Regions from separate parts of the Homo sapiens genome. Here all the other regions are linked to region 1. Evidence: promoter capture Hi-C in human tissues and cell types (Jung and others, 2019). All regions are on one chromosome and are shown on one strand. The core of a region is centred on a gene start or on the middle of the fragment in contact, and the rest is flanking DNA. Distances in the headings are between cores, read along the strand shown. Region 1 holds the start of BLVRB (biliverdin reductase B). Region 2 has its middle 15 kb from the start of AKT2. Region 3 has its middle 30 kb from the start of NUMBL. Region 4 has its middle 39 kb from the start of LTBP4.

Region 1 (2,763 bases), core at 122-2,621:
CGCGCCCCCGGGACCCCCTCCCGCCCGCGGTCCCCGCGCCCCGCCGCCCGAGGCCCACGCGCAGTCACACCCGGCCGCGGCGTGGGGTGCACGGCTGCACTCGCGAGGGCACGGCGGCGTCACGCGCTGCACACTCCCACGGGGTCACGCTCGCCACGCTGCCATACTCGCGGGGGCCTCGGCGCACAAACTCACCCCCGCATCCACGCGCTTGCGCGCCGTCACTCCCTCCTGTGGGGTCTCACGGGGTCACACCCTCACGCCGTCACACGCGGCGTCCACACTGGAACGGTGTCACCCACCACCACACAAATCCAATAGGGTAACCACCGCCCACGCGGCGTCACACACAAATGCACCTGTCACACACAGCCGCACACTCCCCGGCAGTCACAAACAGTGTCATAGGCCCACACATCACGCACAGCTTCACAGCCACAGTGTCACACACTCTACACACTCGAACCTTCATAGCAGTCGCCCCGCACATGCTGCACCGCCGCACCTCACACATCATAGTCACAGGGGGTCACAATGAGCAGCTCAACACAGACACCCACAGCCACACACTCGAATGGGGTCCCGGTGTCACACATCCTTACACGAGACATGTGGTGTCACACACTGTCACAGTCTAATTAGTCTCACGCTTCCATGTAGCACACCTCACACGTCCCACACCCTATCGTACAGGCTGACGCAGTGTCACCCACGGTGTCACCACAAGGTCACAAAAGAACAGAATCAATGCCTGCCACACGTGGTGTCACGCACGTGTAGTCACACTGTAACACGGGATCACACTCAGAGGATGACACAAGGTGTCACCCACAGTCCTGCTTGCCCTCCGGGTCACTGAGTCACACAGGGTCATATAAGTGCATAGGTACGCCGTGACACAGTGTCTTACATCCAAGTGCACACACACACTCTGTCCTCCTAACTTTCTCCCCTTGCTGGTTCTGGGAGGCCCTGGGGCTTAGAGTGCGCCCCAGATCCGCTCCAGGCTCCGGGAGAGGGGGCGTGAGCTACGAGAGGCCGTGGGTGAGGCTCGCCTGGCCCCGCCCCTCTCCGGGAGGTGGAGCGCGGAGGCAGGGCGCTGAGTGACAAGTTATCTCGGCTCCGTCCACTCTATTTGTTGCTATGTGGAGGCGTGGCCTTCTGTGGCCCCGCCTTCCAGTCTAAGTGGCGCGCAGAGAGGGCGGTGCTGGACGGTGAGCGAATGCAAGCTGACGCCTGCCCCGCCCATCCGCGTTAGGCCCCGCCCCTTGACCTGAGCCGCGGGCGGAGAGTCTGAGGCGTGGCCCTTCGAGCCAGCTCCGCCCCGTTGTTCCTGGCTTGAGTAGGGCAGAGAGCACCGCCCAGCAGCCAGTGGGTTCCCGCGCGTGCCGAGACTCTGAGGCCTTGCACCCCCACGATCCCGTACGATGGCCGTCAAGAAGATCGCGATCTTCGGCGCCACTGGCCAGACCGGGCTCACCACCCTGGCGCAGGCGGTGCAAGCAGGCATGAGCCGGGGCGGGCGGGGCATGTCACGGGACAGACGGGCAGAACTTTAGGAAGGGGCACCATGGGGTCGGGCCGAGGCTGATTGGGGCCATGAGCGCCCCAGCCAGGTGTATGAGGACTCAGGGGCCAAAGCAAGTGGCCACGGGGGCAGAAATGGGGAAAGATGTGAGATCCAAGTTTATGTGAGTCCAAGCCAGAGAGGAATTGGCCCCGGGAGCCCCGGGAGGACTCCACTGGCACAGTCGTGTGTAAGTCCAGGGCTCTTATGCAATGCGGTTGTCATTATTGTGGTTGTGGTGGTGGTTGTTCGCACTCCCAGAGAGGATTTACTAAGCCAAGCTTGCTCTGTCGTCTCTTCACATGAGAGCTTTCAAAATGGGGTGGGAACTAGTATCACCCTACTTGACAGATGAGAAAACTGAGACCCAGAGAGTGACTTGCCCAATATCACACAGCTGTTAACTGACAGGACTGGGATTTGAACTCAGCTCATGCTCTTAACCACCACAAGTCCCCAGGCTGGAAACTGAAAAAGTTGGGGGGTCAGGTTGCTGCGAGTACCTAATGGGAAGGAGTCACAGAGAGACATGAGTGAAGACTTGGGGACAGCAGTCCTGGGAAAGTCAATGAGGGCTGAAAATTTGGAGTTGCCCCAGGAGAGAGGGCAGAAAAGGGGATAACCATCCCCCAGCACTCCCTGCCCCCACAGCCCAGACTTGACCAACTCCCAGCTGGGCCTGGGACTTCCAGATATGGGGCCCCACCCTTGCAGGCCTTGGGGACGCTGAAGATATTGACTATCTGCGTGCCCCAAAAGGGTGGAGGCCAACAGGACCCCACTCTGCTGTCTCCCTTGGAGGGACTCTGAAAGTTCTTCTCTAGGTCCATAACTCTCCCCTTCCCCAGGGAGACCACGTGAGGATCTTGACTTGTGGAGAATGGGGAGCTGTGGGCCTCTCAGTAAAAACCAGTTTGCTGATAAGCATTTATTCGGGAGTAATGGAGAAGGAAGTAAGAGAGAGAAGTTGAGAGGCGCTGAGTCACCTGGAAATCCACTAATTCCACCGAATTCCACTCGCCCACCCTGCTGGTCATAGCTGGGACTGCACTCAGAGGGTTAAGAACTGGAGCCTAGGGAGCTTCAGAGCTGTGGCTCTGAAAAATCTCTTCCCAGCTCTCAGCTTTGCTGTCCCCCTCAGCAAAGGGAAGGGCTGGCCAGGCACGGTGGATCATGCCTATAATCCCAGCACTTTG
Region 2 (2,700 bases), core at 156-2,655, 170 kb after region 1:
GGCCAGGCAAAGCTTCTCAGGCCAGGCGCGGTGGCTCGCACCTGCAATCCCAGCACTTTGGGAGGCTGAGGCAGGTGGATCACGAGGTCAGGAGTTTGAGACCAGCCTGACCAACATGGCGAAACCTCGTCTCTACCAAAAATACAAAAATTAGCTGGGCATGGTGGTGGGTTCCTGTAATCCCAGCTACTCGGGAGGCTGAGGCAGGAAGAATCTCTTGAACCTGGGAGGCGGAGGTTGCAGTGAGCCAAGATCATGCCACTGCACTCCAGCCTGGGCGACAGAGCGAGACTCTGTCTCAAGAATAAATAAATAAATAAATAAATAAATAAATAAATAAATAAAAGCCTCTCAAGGTTATGAAGCCAGGGACTTGCCATCAAACTATGCCTATGGCACTATAATACTGTAGGTATTAAAAAAAAATTATAATCTGTCAGCTCAGTCCCATGTAATTCTTATTCTTCCTGATGTTGTTAGCAGGGTTTCTTTTTCTTTTTATTTTCTGAGACAGAGTCTCGCTCTGTTACCCAGGCTGGAGTGCCTCGGTTCAGTGTAACCTCCACCTCCCGGGCTCAAGCGATTCTCGTGCCTCAGCCTCTGGAGTAGCTGGGATTACAGGTGTGCACCACCACACTCAACTAATTTTTTTGTTTTGTTTGTATTTTTAGTAGAGATCGGGATTCTCTATGTTGGCCAGGCTGGTCTCGAGCTTCTGGCCTTAAATGAACCGCCTGCCTGGGCCTCTCAAAGTGCTAGTATTACAGGCATGAGCCACCACACCTAGTCGAGTCAGCAGTTTTCTGAGTCCAGTTTTTCCACTAGAGTTTTGGAAATTCTTACCCAGTCCAATGTTATAATCATAAGTTTATTAGGACCTTCTATTCCAGACTACTTGTCAGAGTCATTTCCATGAATCTTGAAGAAGCAATTTGGGGCAATAGCTGATTGCAAATGCTTTTAGAGAAGAACCAAAACACTATTGATGAGCAAGACAGAATGGCCATGGTTAAAAAATCTGATGAGAGTTCATTATAACCAGCAATTGACAAGGAAACCTGGTTATTTCTGTGGCATATATCATGTTAACATAGTAACAAAATTATGACTTATAACATTAGATTTCTAGGAATCTCATAATTTTTAGAACATTCATATCAGTAACATATCCAGAAATATAACTTTTTTTTTTTTGAGATGGTGTCTAGCTGTGTCGCCCAGGCTGGAATGCAGTGGTGCGATCTTGGCTCACTGCAACCTCCGCCTCCTGGGTTCAAGCAATTCTCCTGCCTCACCCTCCCAAGTAGCTGGGATTACAGGTGCCTGCCACCACACCCAGCTAATTTTTGTATTTTTAGTAGAGACGGGGTTTCATTGTGTTGGCTAGGCTGGTCTTGAACTCCTGACCTCGTGATCCACCTGCCCTGGCCTCCCAAAGTGCTGGGATTACAAGCACGAGCCATTGCACCCGGCCATATAACTTATTTAAAAAAATGTTTTTTATCACCCTCATCACCTCCTACCCTGGGTTCATAAATATAAACGTTTAGCATCATTTATTATTTGACAATGTTTCCCATTTAATTTAACATTTCAAATAAGCCTAATTAGTCTAATATCTCTCTTTTTTCAGATGGAGTTTCGCTCTGTTACCCAGGCTGGAGTGCAATGGTGCGATCTCGGCTCTCTGCAACCTCCGCCCCCTGGGTTCAAGCGATTCTCCTGCCTCAGCCTCCCGAGTAGCTGGGATTATAGGTGCCCGTCACCACGCCTGACTAATTTTTTTTGTATTTTTAGTAGAGACAGGGTTTCGCCATGTCGGCCAGGCTGGTCTTAAACTCCTGACTTCAGGTGATCCACCTGCCTCGGCCTCCCAAAGTACTGGGATTACAGACGTGAGCCACCGTGCCTGGCTAATGTCTCTCTTTTTCGAGGTGAGAAACACATCTTTTGAGCTTTCCCAGGGGCTCAACTGGCAAATTCCAAAGTTAATTCAAGGTCAAAAGACTGAATTTAGAATTTGATTTTAGGAAGTTTGTCAAAAATGTAAAAAAAGATTTAAAACACTTGATGAGTGCTTGCTTTGGCAGCACATATACTAAAGTTGGAATGATGCAGAGAAGATTAGCATGGCCCCTGTGCAAGGATAACTCACAAATTCATGAGGCCTTCCATATTTTTTGAAATTAAGAAAAGAAAAAAGGAAAAATTTGATTAATAGGATCTCAGGTAACTATTAATTTAGGTCACTAATAATTAGTCTGGTTACCAGAGTGATTATTGAATTATATAGTGATCTGGGATCCTATTTAATCAACTGTTCATTTTATAATCATTTAATATTTTATGATTTAAGTATTTAATGAGCATTTAATATTTATTAATATTCATTTCATAATCACCAGGGTAATTATTAAAAGGCTTTGAAGGCAAATAAAGTTATATAGTTGTAAAAATATATATATTAGCTCTCTTAATAGGATTTTATTTTCTTGGAAAGTAATTGAAGGCCTGATAAAAGATAACATGAAAGAGAAAATTATTTTGATAAGACATAATTTTTTAAGGCAGATTACTTAAAAGGTGAAAAAGAAAATCTTTCACTCTTTTTTATCAATACTACAAGAAAATCTTGCATTTTAAAAGATAATGCCAAATTCTAGTTTTGCATCAATGTACCCTTGATATTAGGGCTCATTT
Region 3 (2,700 bases), core at 83-2,582, 190 kb before region 1:
ACCTGTCATAAAATTCACCTATTATAAGTGATTTACTGATTTTGGGTGATTTTACAGTTCTGCAGCCATCACAGCCAATTCAAGAACATTTCCATCACTCTGAAAAGATCCCTTCTGCCCATTTGCAGTCGCTCCCTATTCCCTGTCCCAGCCCCAGGCAACCACTGGTCTACTTTCTGTCCCATACATATTCTCTTCTTCATTTTACAAGCATTTTCTGAATATTTATTTTTATCAGCTATTGAGGGCTGAGGGTACACAATGAAACTCACAGGCCCTGCCTTCAGGGAACTCAGAGTCTGGTTATTGTAATAGCTGATGGGAAAATATGTCCATGCACTAATTTCTTCATTCATTCAAAAAACATTTATTGGCCAGGCACTGTGGCTTGTGCCTGTAATCCCAGCACTTTGGGAGGCTGATTGGGGAGGGTCACTTGAGGCCAGGAGTTCAAGACCAGCCTGGAAAATATAGTGAGACCCCCCCCCCCACCCCGATCTCTACAAAAAAATTTTTTTTTTTAATTATCAAGGTGTGGTGGTGCACACCTATAGTCCCAGTAACAGGAAGCTGAGGTGGGAGGATTGCTTGAGCCCAGGAGGTCGAGGCTGCAGTGAGCCATGATTGTGCCACTGCACTCCAGCCTGGGTGACAGAACAAGACCATCTCTACAGAAAAAAAAAAAAAAAAAAAAAAGAGAGAAAAAGAAGGGTCTTCCAAAAATTCATGGAAAATGTGTATTATGAAAAAACTATGCATGGAGTTCAATTTTTTTTTTTTGCACCAAAATAAATTCATACTAACTTGTTATAACTTGTCTGAACAGGACCTAGTTTGAGACACTAAAATAAAACATCAGATTGAAAAGAGCCCCTATCAGAGCAACACGAATTCTAAAATTGAAGCAAGAACAAGCATCAAATTGATGGTGAAGCTTGGGTGGAAGAATGATGAAATCATTGATGTTTTCCAAAAACTTGACAGTGCCCCAGAGAAATCAGCCATTTACAAATGGATAACTCGTTTTAAGAAGGGACAAGTTCGGGCGTGGTGGTTCACGCCTGTAATCCCAATACTTTGGGAGGCTGAGGCCAGCGGATCATTGGAGCTCAGGAATTCGAGACCAGCCTGGGTAACATGGTGAAACCCCATCCGTACAAAAAATACATAAATTAGCTGGGTGTGGTGGTGCACACTTGTAGTTCCAGCTACTCAGGAGGCTGAGGTGGGAGGATCACTTGAGTCTGGGAGGTAGAGGTTGCAGTGAGCCGTGATTGCGCCACTGCACTCCAGCCTGGGTCATGCTGAAGATGAAGCCCACCGTGGCATACCATCCACATCAATTTTTGCAGAAAAAAATTAAATTTGTTTATGCCTTAATTAAAGAGGACTTACAGTTAACAGCAGAAACAATAGCCAACACCATAGACATCTCAATTGGTACAGCTTACACAATTCTTTTTTCTTTTTTTTTTTTTTTTTTTTTGAGACAGGGTTCTCATACTGTCGCCCAGGCTGAGTACAGTGGTGAGATTGTGGCTCACTGCAGCCTCAACCTCCTGGGCTCAAGCGATCCTTCCACCTCAGCCTCCGAAGTAGTTGGAACTACAGGTGCGTGCCAGCACGTTCAGCTAAGTGTCACACGCGTCCCTGTGAAGAGACCACCAAACAGGCTTTGTGTGAGCAACAAGGCTGTTTATTTCACCTGGGTGCAGGCAGGCTGAGTCCAAAAAGAGAGTCAGCAAAGGGTGGTGGGATTATGATTAATTCTTATAGGTTTTGGGATAGGCGGTGGAGTTTGGAGCAATGTTTTGCGGGCAGGGGGCGGATCTCACAAAGTTCATTCTCAAGGATGGGAAGAATTACAAAGAAACTTCTTAAGGGTGGGGGAGATTACAAAGTACATTGATCATTAGGGTGGGGCAGAAACAAATCACAATGGTGGAATGTCATCAGTTAAGGCTATTTTCACTTCTTTTGTGGCTCTTCAGTTGCTTCAGGCCACCTGGATGTATACGTGCAGGTCACAGGCGATATGATGGCTTAGCTTGGGCTCAGAGGCCTGACACTAAATTTTCGTATTTTTTGTAGAGATGGGGGTCTCATTAGGTTTCCCAGGCTGGTCTTGAACTCCTGGACACAAGTGATCCTCCTGCCTCATTCTCCCGAACTGCTGGGATTACAGGCTTGAGCCACCTCACCCGGCCTCAGCTTACACAATTCTGACTGAAATTAAAGCTAAACAAACTTTCCACTCGATGGGTGCCAGAACGGTCGCACCCAGATCAGCTGCAGAGAAGAGCAGAGCTTTCCATGGACATGCTAAACAAGTGAGATCGAGATCCTAATGCATTTCCTTGAAGGATTGTAACGGGAAATGATACATGGTTTCACGGGTGCAATCCTAAAGACAAATCGTAATCAGAGAATGATTGCCAAGAGCGGGGAAGTGATCCAGTCAAGGCAGAAGCACACTGGTCAAGAGCAAAGGTCATAGCAACAGTTTTTGGGGATGCTCAAGGCATTTTGCTGGTTGACTTTCTGTAGGGTCAAAGAATAATAAGATCTGCTTATTATGAGAGTGTTTTGAGAAAGTTAGCCGAAGCTTTAGTAGAAATAAGCCTGGGAAGCTTCACCAGAGAGTTCTTCTCCAGCATGTCTACGCTTCTGCTCATTCTCCTCATCAAACGAGCAATTTTA
Region 4 (2,724 bases), core at 34-2,533, 170 kb before region 1:
ATTACAGTACTAAAAAAAAAAAGAAAGAAAAATAGCACTACTATTTATTCAAAGTTTATTGAAAAATTCGAAGTTGGAACTTGGGTTTTTGGGTTACAGTCTGATATAAAATTGTTATGTAAATAGTTGTGAGTTTTTTTCTTCTTGAGGAGAGAGAGACTGGGAGGGAGGGAGGAAACAGGAAGAGAGACAGACAGAGAGACAGACACAGAGTGAGACACAGTTGACCCCTTCACATGGGGCCCTGGGCACTTAGAATTCACCCTGCAAAGCCCCCCCGAAGTCAGGACTTGGTGTGGGGTGTTGCAGAAATGTTTCCTCCCCCTGCCCGGGCTCCGCTGGGAAGCCACGTCCCCCACCCCTGCCCTTCCTCCCACCCACAGCCTGCCTTCTCTCTGGGGACCTCTGTGGAGCTGCCTGGAACATGCGTGGGGTGACATGCATAGCAAGCTGGGGGAAGCAACCAAGGTGGTGGCCAGGCCCCTTGAAGACATAAAAGCACATTGCATTGGGAGGGAGGGACCCCGGGGGGCTGAGAATGTCCTGTTGCTTAAACTGGATGGAGGGGACACTGGGTGGTGGGTGCAGCTCCTCGTTTTCAGCAGTGGTTTCTTGAAGTAGACCCATATTCAGGAAAGTACAAACCGTAAGTGTAACCGCTGGAGGAATTATCACCGATTGAACACACCTGTGTCACCAGCCACCAGCCCAAGAAGCAATATCTCCAGCCCCCCAGAAGCCCCCTCGGCGCTCCCTTATCACCTGCCCTCCCTCCAAGGTCATTATCACCCTCACTTCTGACAGCATAGATTGGTTGTGCCTGTTTTGAATTCATGTAAATGCAATCTGAAAATATGTTCTTTTTAGCATCTGGCTTTTTTCAGTCAGCACCGTGAAAAAAATTCATCCTGGTTGTCGTGTGCAGTTACAGGTTATTCTCATTGCAGCACACACACATTGCAGGCCACTGTGGGATCAGTTTATCCATTCTTCTGCTGGTGGTGAGGGACTGAGCCAAGGGGGCCAGGCGCGGTGGCTCACACCTGTAATCCCAGCACTTTGGGAGACTGAGGTAGATGGATCACTTGAGATCAGCAGTTCGAGACCAGCCTGGCCACATGGTGAAACCCCGTCTCTACTAATAATACAAAAATTAGCTGGGGGTGGTGGCGGGTGCCTGTAGTCCCAGCTACTCGGGAGGCTGAGGCAGGAGAATTGCCTGAACCTGAGAGGAGGAGCTTGCTGTGAGCCGAGATCGTGCCACTGCACTCCAGTCTGGGCAACAAGAGTGAAAAAACTCCGTCTCAAAAAAAAAAAAAAAGAGAAACTGAACCTAGTGGAAAGAGTCCCCTAGGCAGAGGGAACAGCCAGTGCCAAGGTCCTGGGGTGGGATGGGAACATGTCTGGATCTTAGAGAAACAACAAGGAGATCCGTGTTGCTGCAGAGGAGCGTGTGGGGGGTGGAGGGGAGGTGAGGTCAGAGAGGGAACAAGAAGCAGACGGTGCAGAGTCTGCTGGACCACAGTGAGGACTTTGGCTCTTACTTTGAATGAGATTGGCGGAACACAGTGGCTCAGGCCTGGAATCCCAGCATTTTGGGAGGCCGAGGTGGGTAGATAAGTTGAGCCCATAAGTTCAAGACCAGCTTGGGCAATAAGGGAGGCCTCGTCTCTATCAAAAAATTGGCTGGGTTGTGGTAGCCCTGGAGGCCTGGAGGATGGCTTGAGCCGAGGAAGTCTAGGCTGCAGTGAGTCATGACTTGCACCACTGCACTCCAGCCTGGGCAACAGAGTGAGACCCTGTCTCAAAAAAAAACAAAAAAAAAATGAGCAAAATAATCTTTGAGTGAGATGGAGCCACAGGAAAGTTTTGAGCAGCAGAGGGAGTTGAGTTGACTTGGTTATTCCCAGAGTCCCTCTATCTGCATGACGGGGAGAGATTGTGGGGCCAGGAGTAGGAACTCCAAACCCTAGGAGGAGGGTAAGATATGGGTGGCAGCTATGGAGGTGGTAAGAAGTATTTGGCCTCTGAATACATTTTTTCTTTGTTTGTTTTTGAGAGGGAGTCTCACTCTGTCACCCAGGCTGGAGTGCAGTGGTGCAATCTGAGCTCACTGCAACCTCCACTTCCTGGATTCAAGCAATTCTCCTACCTCAGCCTCCCAAGTAGCTGGGATTACAGGCGTGCACCACAATGCCTGGATAACTTCTTCTTCTTTTTTTTTTTTTTTTTTTTTGTATTTTTGGTAGAGATGGGGTTTCACCATGTTGGCCAGGCTAGTCTCAAACTTGTTGCCTCAAGTGATCCGTCTGCCCCAGCCTCACAAAGTGCTGGGATTACAGGTGTGAGCCACCATACCTGGCCCTGAATACATTTTTTGTGTATGTGATTAATGATGTATTTTATTTACTTCTACCATTTTGCTTTGTGATTCTAGTGTCCTCATTTTTCTACGTTTATTTATTTTTTCATGCTCATTTAAGCTTCTTTGAATTGGCTGCATTTTTTGTTTAGTTTTGTCTTATGTTTTCTTATTCTTTGTTTTCCCTCTACTAGTTTGGAATCTATGCACCATTTCTTTCTTTTTGTAGCAATCTTTGAAATTTTAACATGCTTTTTTTTTTTTTTTTTTTTTTGAGGCAGGGTCTTGCTCTGTTGCCCAGCCTGCAGTGCAGTGGTGAGATCCTAGCTCGTTGCAGGCTGGAACTCCTGGTCTCAATGGAT

Evidence for each region. The method cuts DNA at HindIII sites, captures the fragments that hold promoters and counts their contacts. A contact is called where the count stands out against the background at its distance.
Region 2: a contact is called between a fragment that was not itself captured here and the fragment with the promoter of BLVRB in region 1, in 2 of the 25 tissues and cell types used here (aorta and liver).
Region 3: a fragment that was not itself captured here is called in contact with the fragment with the promoter of BLVRB in region 1 in 1 of the 25 tissues and cell types used here (lymphoblastoid cells).
Region 4: a fragment that was not itself captured here is called in contact with the fragment with the promoter of BLVRB in region 1 in 1 of the 25 tissues and cell types used here (hippocampus).

Annotation. Positions count from the first base shown.
Region 1 is chr19:40,464,353-40,467,115 of GRCh38, reverse strand. It overlaps BLVRB (biliverdin reductase B), which reads left to right and starts at 1,371. Exons shown (of 5, transcript NM_000713.3): 1 at 1,371-1,506. The coding sequence starts at 1,428. It overlaps SPTBN4 (spectrin beta, non-erythrocytic 4), which reads right to left and starts at 115. Exons shown (of 36, transcript NM_020971.3): 1 at 1-115. RefSeq lists a silencer at 957-1,156 and an enhancer at 2,178-2,297. The HindIII fragment of the contact is 35,109 bases long and covers 1-2,763 here.
Region 2 is chr19:40,298,959-40,301,658 of GRCh38, reverse strand. It overlaps a transcript of C19orf47 not described here and the pseudogene RNU6-945P. Among named protein-coding and RNA genes, the nearest start is that of AKT2, 15 kb to the right of the region's middle. The HindIII fragment of the contact is 5,785 bases long and covers 1-2,700 here.
Region 3 is chr19:40,659,341-40,662,040 of GRCh38, reverse strand. No RefSeq gene overlaps it. Among named protein-coding and RNA genes, the nearest start is that of NUMBL, 30 kb to the left of the region's middle. The HindIII fragment of the contact is 4,666 bases long and covers 1-2,700 here.
Region 4 is chr19:40,638,528-40,641,251 of GRCh38, reverse strand. No RefSeq gene overlaps it. Among named protein-coding and RNA genes, the nearest start is that of LTBP4, 39 kb to the right of the region's middle. The HindIII fragment of the contact is 3,860 bases long and covers 1-2,724 here.